3 separate regions of the Homo sapiens genome follow, and regions 2 and 3 are each linked to region 1. The links are contacts of gene promoters, found by promoter capture Hi-C in blood cells and fetal thymus (Javierre and others, 2016). All regions are on one chromosome and are shown on one strand. The core of a region is centred on a gene start or on the middle of the fragment in contact, and the rest is flanking DNA. Distances in the headings are between cores, read along the strand shown.

Evidence for each region. The method cuts DNA at HindIII sites, captures the fragments that hold promoters and counts their contacts. A CHiCAGO score of 5 or more calls a contact.
Region 2: a fragment that was not itself captured here is called in contact with the fragment with the promoter of CLECL1 in region 1 in 1 of 17 cell types (total B cells); the score reaches 5.4 in total B cells.
Region 3: a contact is called between a fragment that was not itself captured here and the fragment with the promoter of CLECL1 in region 1, in 8 of 17 cell types (total B cells, total CD4 T cells, non-activated CD4 T cells and 5 more). The highest score is 15.2, in total B cells.

The regions. Positions count from the first base shown.
Region 1 is chr12:9,730,999-9,734,382 of GRCh38, forward strand. CLECL1 (C-type lectin like 1) reads right to left here and starts at 2,099. Exons shown (of 2, transcript NM_001441815.1): 1 at 1,951-2,099. The coding sequence starts at 2,032. The HindIII fragment of the contact is 6,540 bases long and covers 183-3,384 here.
Region 2 is chr12:9,808,617-9,812,170 of GRCh38, forward strand. It overlaps a transcript of KLRF1 not described here. Among named protein-coding and RNA genes, the nearest start is that of KLRF1, 17 kb to the right of the region's middle. The HindIII fragment of the contact is 590 bases long and covers 1,483-2,072 here.
Region 3 is chr12:9,619,972-9,623,172 of GRCh38, forward strand. It overlaps the pseudogene LOC374443. Among named protein-coding and RNA genes, the nearest start is that of KLRB1, 14 kb to the left of the region's middle. The HindIII fragment of the contact is 598 bases long and covers 1,104-1,701 here.

The sequences.
Region 1 (3,384 bases), core at 849-3,348:
CTAATATGACGAACTGAAATTATGGATCCCTAAGTTTAGTAGAATAAAATTTCAGATTTCATAAAAAGACTAACATAAAAGATATTGATCATTCTTTTAGGCCTCCTAAGTAAGATTTAAGCAAAGCATAAATTTCTGGGATATTCTCAGTTCAAACACACACTCTCACTGATGTCCTGCTAAGCTTCCTGATGACATTCCTTTATGCTTTACATCTTGGAGAACCAATGAGCATACATATATACATTCATCGTCTAATGCGATTCATTTATTTATTCAGCCATTTATAAATTATTTTACTTATCAAGCATCTATTAATTTCCTGCTCTATATTTAGTACGGTGTGAGGTGCTAGAAACACAAAGATTAATAGATTATGTAGAAAGATTCAGCATTTTATGAGGCTCTGAAATGGTAAGGAATATGACAACCTTTAGGAGAAAAGAAAAGGCCAATAGCCAGAGCAAAATCAGTGAAAGGTATGAGGTTAGAAGAGATCAGGAACAATTGTGTAGGACTCTGTATGTAAGACAACAAAAATCTAATCTATCCAACAGCTCTTTCGCTTGATGGCGAAGTGACGCATGAGAACAAAAGTTGCGTTTATCTAACACCACACGTATACAGCACAAGAACAATATGATATTTGACTTCTGGTCATAAGCATGACTATAGGTAGGTAATTTAATCTTCATATAGTTCGTTTTCTCATTTTTAGCATTCTAAGATTGAACTAGATCACATTAAAAGATGTTGCCCCACATCCCTAAACTGGGAAAAGAATAAGGTTTTATTTATAAAAGTTCAAACCATAGACAGAAAGGCAATTAAACCCTGGAATGCGGAATCAAAAATATTGGTTTTGTTGCTTAAACTGAGTAAAATAACCTCTAGAAAAAGAAACTAACTACAGGACATTTTTGAAGCATAGGGGAATGACAGTGCAGTTCTAGTCCATGTTATTTTTCAAATTATGTTTCACTATTTCATAGGAAGTGAAAGTGCCTAAGCTGGAAGAAAAGAAAGCAAGTTAGCCTCTGCTGGGTAAAATAGAGAGGTAAGGTTTAAAATAAGAAACAAGATGCTTTTACAACCAGAAAAGGACACACACTAGATTCCTTTGATAACTATAAACTTTTGAAAATATAAAGAAGAAATACATTCCTTGGAAATACGAACAAAGTAGCAGATTCATTCCACAAGGGCAAATACAAAGGAGGAACTTTAAATTATTTAAAACACCTACATAAACTCTATGCTACAAAAATTCTTACCCTAGAGCAGAGAATGGAAATGTAACAAGACAGAGAAATTTCCTTAATACTTCAAAGAATAGAAAAGACACTGGCTATGAAAATCTATAATTTTTGAGGGGGTTTGGTGATGAAGGCACCATGTTAAGTTTAGGCATATGCTTATCGCCTCTGATTCCAGAAATATTCAATTACCTAGTCATTAATTCTAGACTTTATAAAATTAAATCTAACGTTTCATGTTTTCTTAAGTTTACATTTTTATCCTATTGATATTGTAAAAGAATAAATAACAATATGAGTAAATTGCCACAGGTATTTTTCCCAGTGGAGATGAATTTATCACATTATGTTAAAAGGTCAGATTTGATTGAGAGTGAGCAAAGCTGTGGAGCAGAAAGGCGTGATCCCGCTAGAAGTTGCTGTGTGAATATAAACATTCATCACGAGAAATCAAGAAATAGAAAGGCTATGAAAACAGAAGCAAAGTTCTACATATTAAAACCAAAGTGGCAATTTATTTTATGAACAGACATTTTGCTTCATTAAAAACATTCGCTCTTATTCTTAGCATTCAATGAATTTTGCTTTGAATCCAATCTCCTCTTTTCAGTTTGGCAATTAGATACATAAGAAAGAAATAAAGGAGATAACTAGTAAAATCTTAATTCTCAAAGGCACCCTAAATCCAGCTTACCAGATCTCTGAAGTGGAAACGCGAGTTCTAACGGGGAAGTCCGAACAGTTTTGATGTCAGCGTAGACTACATCTCCAGCCATTGCACAGATCAAAAAGAGAGAGAAGACCACAAATGATGTCCCACTGAAGGGACAATCATATTTCTGCAAAGAAACTTCTGATAAGTAAATTGAGATGGCAAATTTCCTTCTGCTCCCCAAGTGGGTGGTGGACTTCCTCCATGAATAAATGACAAAACCAATGTGTTCAGTCTTACTAATCAAGGTAGCAGATTTCTCGAATACTTGTATGACATGGAAGAAATTACTAACCATACAGTAGGTTCTCGTTTTTCAGTTAGTTTTCTGCCTAAACTTGAAATGCTTTTAACTTTTATTAATACCACAGAAGATATCTCACCATTTTCTCCTATAGACCACTTCCTCTTTTAGTTCAGGCATATATTCTCTGGCGGAAACTCTGAATTTCCAGCATCTTCTCCAAAGTAGGATAGCTATTTGGGAAACAGAACAAGAAAAAGAAGGGATTTTATTACGAAAGTTACAGAAAGGGGCCCTATGTCTTTTATCCTCCTCTCTAAATGCATTGTATTGTCTAGATAATACCTTAAAAATTCTGAAAGCTATTTGCTTTCCTGTATGCTTTATAATATTAACATTAAACTGAGGTAAAACATGAATTATGCAGAGGACTTCTGAACTAAAAAATATATATTTAAGAAACAGAAATAACTCTGTTAAAATAATTCAAGGTAATGACATAAAAGAAAAAAATCTAATTTTAAAATGAGGTGTTCAGAAATTTACTATCGAATACAACATAGCAAACATAGATTTTATCTCCTATTTCTTCTAAAATTCCACTAAAATTGAATTAAGTGAATAAAAATTTGTTAGTCTAAAACAATAACACAAAGGCTCAGGGTCCTATTAGTTGATGAAAAATTTCAACTAATTCCTGGAAAATGGAGAGTAGATGGAGATGTGATCATTGATGAAGAAGTAAAATCAGAGAAAAATGCAGCCAACACCATACAGAGGGAAATAATGGAGGAGAGCCTAGCTACCTGTGAAACCGTCATAGGACATAGAAATGTCAGATATGAAAAATGGCAGGATCCATTAGCTTATGACTAGTAGATTAACTGGAAATCTGCATATGGAAAAACTGGTTTTTTCAATACCCACTCAAGTGCATTCTGCAGAATTAATCTAAACTGCAGTCACCCCATCCCTACCCCTCATCCAAGAAATTTAACTTAGGTTAATTAAATAACTAGAGAACAGATCCTGGCTTTGTGGCATTTAGGGATCCCTCCTATAAAGACCAACTTCTGACCCTGGATGAGGCTTGAGCACCGACCTCTGTCTCTTAAGACTGCATGACACTCTCTCCCTTTTCTGGGCTGTTCCAACTGTTTGTATGTGACTAG
Region 2 (3,554 bases), core at 528-3,027, 77 kb after region 1:
ACCACAGAATGCTGCAATCATGCAGCCTTGGTTTGGTAGACGTTTGAATCAAAGAGCTTTAGGCAAGAGTTGGCAGAGTGCAATATTAAAAATATAGTTAGCTAAGTCTTAGTAAATATCCATATGTGTAATATGAGTAAGCAGGCAAGTCATGCTAGAATGACCTCGTATTCTTGGTGTTAAAAGACTTATCACATTAATGGTTTTGGAAAACAATGAATGTATCATGTATATGATTTTCACTGAGATGTATGCCACAGAATGCTATAATATCTACATGAAAGCAGTGCTACCTCAGGTTAGGTGCCATTAGTTAGGAGAGAGATCATTTTCTATATGCCAGAATGTTTTGCATTTCATTCTCTCTTACTCCACATTTTATAAATGCTTAGGTTAATATATTCAATGTATAGATGACATACAACTTGGATATCTAATACACTGAGTAATAGAATCATAAACTCCAAACATTCTGCATTTCGGAGAAAATTGAGAGTTTAGCGAGATGAATTTTTTAAGTGTATTAAAATCTAAACTGAAGAAGTTAACAAGATGGGAAGAATTGCCTTTATTTGTAGATGTATGCAAGAGCACTAGGGGAAATTCAATGACCAACAAGCTCAAAATAAGATTGTGTGAAGTAATGAATTTTAGGTAAAATCAATACAAATATATCTAAAAAGAAAGGGTGGGACTTTTTTCCTCCATTCCTGGCCCAATTCTTTGAAATAATTTTTATGTGATTGTTTCAAACCATCTTAACTTTCTCTTAGTTTTCCTCTGCATACATGCACATATGTAAATGCCTACTTTTAAGAGTACAGATGAGAAAAAACAGGGATTTGAATTAGTTGAAACCGTAACTTAAGTATTATTTCCAGGAACTAAAGCTACTTAGCCAGAATCAGGAAAAGGGCTGCTGGGAATAAGTTTGTTAACGTAAATTGTTCCAACAGCTGTCATATTGATGTTACGCTTAGTTTACTGGCTCCAGAAGGCAGAATTGATACCAATTCTTGAAAGAAGCATCCATATACCCCAGTTAATTTTGATTATGTCATGAGATTTTGTGTAGTATTCAAAGATAAATTGTTATTATTGTTGGAAAAAGCGGGTTACTTAGATTTAAACTTAGGTTAAGAAAATTGATTTAAAAAAATAAGTTCCACTTTCAAAAGTTGTTATTCTATTGATAAATCTGTTTTTTTTAATGCTGCTTTATTTGATGTAAAACTACTGTTTTGAAAATATTGACTGTGCCTATGGATTAATGTATCAAACAAAATCACCCCATGAATAAATCAAATATTTATTTATTTACCTGAAGTATACAAAAGGAGAATGACATAAAGATCAATTAGCAAGGTTGATAAATCTGCAAGAAACAAGCTTCTCAGTCCTAAATTTCATCATTAAATCACTGAAACTCAGAGTTGTGAATGACAACATCTGAATAGTGAGTGTCAACATAGATTTTCTACAAGCTTGAGGGTTTTTATCTAGGAACAATTCTGTTTGTAGGTCATCCTGGATATATTCAAGGGACCATTATTTTTGGTATTATACAATATAACTTGATGTTCTCATAGTCAAATGTGAATGCATTTCTCATACTTTATCTGAATCCTCCCAAATTAACAATGTGGTCCAAGTATATTCCCAAAATTAGAGTTTCTGAGCCTGAACGGAAGTTAAGCTCCCAGAAATCGCAGGTAGCTGTGTTAATAAGTGGTTAGAATAACTAGGGCTTATCTTTTGTGTGTCCTTTGATAAATTTAAACAAATTAAATTCCTCTCCAAGATAGGTCTGATTCACAAACTTAATGACTATATGCTTAAATTTTCACCTATAGTTTAATGAAATGTTTGTTTTTAAAAGATGTTTGAAGTCTAAAATAGACTCCCCAAACAGTGTCTGACATGTAATAAGTCCTCAGAAAATAATTCATAAATATTGAATGACTAGTAGGATATTAAAATGTGGTCATTCCTGCTGTTTACTTTTATCTGAGGGCACAAATGTCAAGAACAATTCTATAGGTGCTAGACCTCCTATATAGGACATGCTAACAAGCTTGCAAAAGTGTTTATTTCAAATTTCGATCTATCATCTACTTTCAGAGCACATTAAGAGTTTATGAGTGTTCAGAGATTAGGAAGTGAGAATTTTTTTTATGAAGTGACTTGCCAGTGTACTTCCCATTTCCCAATATCTTTCTGTGTCAATAAGCAAAAGAACTTCTCTTTTACCTTAAGCCAAGTTTGGATTCTGTCATATATTGGCAAGTGTCCTCTGGGAGTTGGAGGTTGCAGAGGTGAACACTTTCAGTATGTGAGTTTGTTAGAACTACACATAACCACAGAGTAAAAGCAGATGTGTAGATTAAGCCACACTTCCAGCAATGGTGAGGCTGAAGGGAGTGTTTCCTGTGGGCCGGATGAAGATCTCATACAAAGCAGCCATTTGGGAACCATCCTAAAATAAAATTCACCTAAGACTGCTTCTTACCACAGGCAAGTCAGCCTCAATGAAAAGAAGCTGGAAGTATAGAGTAGAAAGCAAAAAAAAAAAAGGTACCTGGGGAGTTGTGAGGGGTGAGGTACAGTGATTTGCAAGCAGGATTGCCAAAGGAGACATCACACATCAGACAACTGCAGAGTACCCCAGGAGCAGAATTTCTGAAAAACCCATAGAAGTAGTCCAAAAAAAAAAAAAAAAAGAGAGAAAACATTTGGAGTGTCAGCATACAGATTAAAACTGTCCAGGCTGGTAACATCTTTATTCCGTGTTTATTTCTATTCCCTTTGTTTCACCTTCACTCATTCTGGGGATCAGGGTTGGGGAATGGAAAGAGATACTAGAGAGGGAAGAAGCTCATGCAGAGCCCGTTATACTCACTTGCCCCCTTAATGGTCCCAAACTAAGCAGATCCAATCCAAGCTGAGAGAGAGGAAAAGTGTTAAATTAGATAAAAGTTGGACTTAAGATATTAGGCGGAATTGGATCTTTTATTATCTTCATTATCAAAAGACCATGAGATCCACAAAGGAAGGAAAGGAGAAGACTTTATTTTCAGAGGGAAAAATAACCCTAGAATTAGGGAAATGCAGCTTTCGGGAAAATCCGAAAGTTCACTCTCTGAAGAAGTGAGAGGGGGCTGGTATACATGTCTTATACAGTCAGTTTTACATACATACTGAGCAGGGTTGGGAAAATTCTGTGAATACTTATGAATATTCATGAAGGAAGTCAAGCACTAGTGCATTGGGTAAGCAGATGTAACATGCACCCCACGGTCACTTTGGGATGGTGTTTTAACATTAAATCGGGTGGAATTTGGCTCTTTACCTCAAAAGGTGAACTATAGCGTACAAAAATAGTTTGTACATAATCTCCACAAGCTGTCTGTAACTGGTTTAAGGTCTGTGGCCATTCATCAATAAAGAATGTTTATAAGATTGGGTCTGGCCGGGCGCGGTGGCTCACGCCTGTAATCCCAGCACGTTGGGAGGCCGAGGCGGGCGGATCATGAGGTCAGGAGATCACGACAATC
Region 3 (3,201 bases), core at 153-2,652, 110 kb before region 1:
CCTTTCTCCCCCTACTAGAAGCATGAGAGGGTTTTTCTCTAATATTTTCTGTGAGAACCTGGTCAAGTTCCCAGAGGTAAATCTCACAAAATTGTGGGATCCTCATATGACTGGGTCCCCCTGGAGTTTTTAACTCTCAAAGTTGCCTGCACTGTGCCTCCAGCACCTCATCCATTATAGTCCGTGTTTTCCTCTCCCAGCTCTTGCTCTCATGATAGTTTCTCTTCCTGTATTTTCCCGTCTGCCTCTTCAAACCTGGGTGCAGGCATTTGCTGTTTCTTCAGTGCTCTTACATATCCTAGAAGAGTTGTTGATTTGTCAGTCTGTTCAACTTTTCCTCGTATTTAATCTGAAGTGGCAACTTCCAAGCACCTTATAGGCAGAACTGGAAACTGGAAGTTTTTTCTCATTGTGGTTTTGACTTAAATTTTCCTGATGATTAGTGAAGTTGAGCAACTTTTTATATTCCTGTTGGCCACTTACATGTTATCTTACATGAAAGAAACTTACATGAAAGAAACATCTATTCAATTTCTTTGCCCATTTTTTAATCAGGCCATTTGATTTTTGCTTATGAGACATAAGAGTTCTTTGTATATTCTGGATATTAATCTCTTATCAAATTTTAGAAATGAAAATCTTTTCTTCTATTCCACACATTGCCTTTTCGCTCTGTTTTCTTGGACGGAGTCTCACCCTGTCATCCAGGTTGGAGTGCAATGGCGCCATCTTGGCTCACTGCAATCTCTGCTTCCCGGATTCAAGCGATTCTCCTGCCTCAGCATCCCAAGTAGCTGGGATTACAAGCACATGCCACCACACCTGGCTAATTTTTTGTATCTTTAGTAGAGACAGGGTTTCACCATGTTGGCCAGGCTGGTCTCCAACTCCTGACCTCAGGTGATCTGCCCACCTTGGCCTCCCAAAGTGCTGGGATTACAGGCCTGAGCCACTGCACCTGGCCTCTTTTCACTCTGTTGATTGTGTCCTTTGTTGCACAAAAGTTTTTAAGATTCATATAGTCTCATTTACCTATTTTTGCTTTCATTACCTGTGTTTTTAGTGTCATATCCAATAAATCATTGTCAAGTCCAGTGTCATGAAGCTTTCCCTATATGTTTTCTTATAGGAATTTTATAAATTTAGGTTTTATGTTTAAGTCATTAATATATTTTGAGTTAATGGTGTAAAATAAAGGCCCAACTTCATTCTTTTGCATGTAGATATCCAGTTTTTTCAATATCAGTTGTTGAAGAGACTGTTTTTCCCCACTGAGTGGTCTTGGCATCCTTGTCAAAGATCATTTGACCACATGCATGAAAATTTAATTTATAGGCTGTGTATTCTATTCAACTGGTCTATTTGTTTTTGTGCTAGTACCACACTACTTTGATTATCATAGATTTGTAATATGTTTTGAAATCAGGAAATGTAAGTCCTCCAACTTTGTTCTTTTTCAAAATTGTTTTGACTATTCGGAGTCCTTTTATATACCAAATGAATTTCAGGATACATTTTTCTATTTCTCCAAAAGATCCCATAAGGATTTTGATAAGGATTGCATTGACTCTGTAGGTCACTTCGGACATTATGAACAATGTAACAATATTAAGTTATCTAATCCATGAACACAGGATATCTTTCATTTATTAGTGTCTGCTTTAATTTCATTCAGCAACGTTTTATGGTTTGCAGTGTACAAGCTTCTCATCTCCTTGGTTAGGTTTATTCCTAAGCTTTTTATTGTTTTGAGTGAAATTGTAAATGGATTTGTTTTCTTAATTTCCTTTTTGGATTGTTCATTATTCATGTATAGAAATGCAACTGATTTCTGTGTGTTGGTTTTGTACCTTGCAACTTTGCTTAATTCATTTATTAGTTCTAACAGATTTTTATTGTGTATGGAATCATTAGAGTTTTCTATGTATACGATTTTGTCCTCTGTAAACAGAGATTATTTACTTCTTCTTTTCCCATCTGGATGCCTTTTATTTCTTTTTATTGCTTAATTGTTCTGGCTATAATTTTCAGTTCTATGTTGAATAGAAGTAGTAAGAGTGAGCATCTTTGCCTTGTTTCTGATATTAGAGAAAAAGCTTTCAGTCTTTTATCCTTGTGTATGATGTTATCTGTGGCCTCTTTATAAATGGTCTTAATTGTGTTCATGGACTGGCCTTCTCTTCCCATTTTATTAAGTGTTTTAACATGAAAGAGTGTTTAATCTTGTCAAATGATATTTCTCCACTGATTGAGATAATCGTGATTTTTGTCCTTTATTCTGTTAATGTGTTATATTACATTGTTTTTTTCTTTTTTTCTTACTTTTTTTTTTTTTTTAATGAGACAGGGTCTCACGCTGTCACCCAGGCTGGAGTGGAATGGCACTATCTTGACTCACTACAGCCTTAATCTCCTGAGCTCAAGCAATCCTCTCACCTCAGGCTCCTGAGTAGCTGGGACTACAAGTATGTACCACCACGCCTGGCTAGTTTTCATATTTTTTTATACATATGGGGTTTTGCCATGTTGCCCAGGCTGGTCTTGAACTCTTGAGCTCAAGCAATCCACCCACCTCCACCTCACAAAGTGCTGGGATCACAGGCATGAGCCATTGCACCCATAGATTGATTTTCATATGCTAAACTCTCCTTGCATTCCTGGAGTAAATCCCATTTGGTTATCATATATGATTCTTTTAATATGCTATTTAATTTGGTTTGCTAGTATTTTGTTGAGGATTTTTGCATTCACATTCATCGGAGATATTGGTCTGTAGTTTTCTTTTCTTGCAGTGTCTTTGCCTCACTTTGGTATTAGGGCAATTTTGGCCTGATATAAGGAACTTAGAAGCATTCCCTCCTCTTGAATTCTATGAAAGAGTTTCAGGAAAACTGGTGTTAATTCTTTTGTAAATGTTTAGTAGAATTCTCCAGCGAAGCCATCTGGGATTTCTTTTTAGGGGGATTTTTGATTACTAATTCAATCTTCATACTATTTATTGATCTTTTCAGATTTTTTATATCTACATGATTCAGTCTTGCTAGATTGTATGTTTCTAGGGATTTGTACATTTCTTTTAGGTTATTCAATTTGTTGGCATGCCATTGTTCACAGTATTCTCATGATCCTTTTTATTTCTGTGGTATCAATTGTAATATCTCTTTTTTCACTTCTGATTTTATTTATTTGCATCTTCTCTTT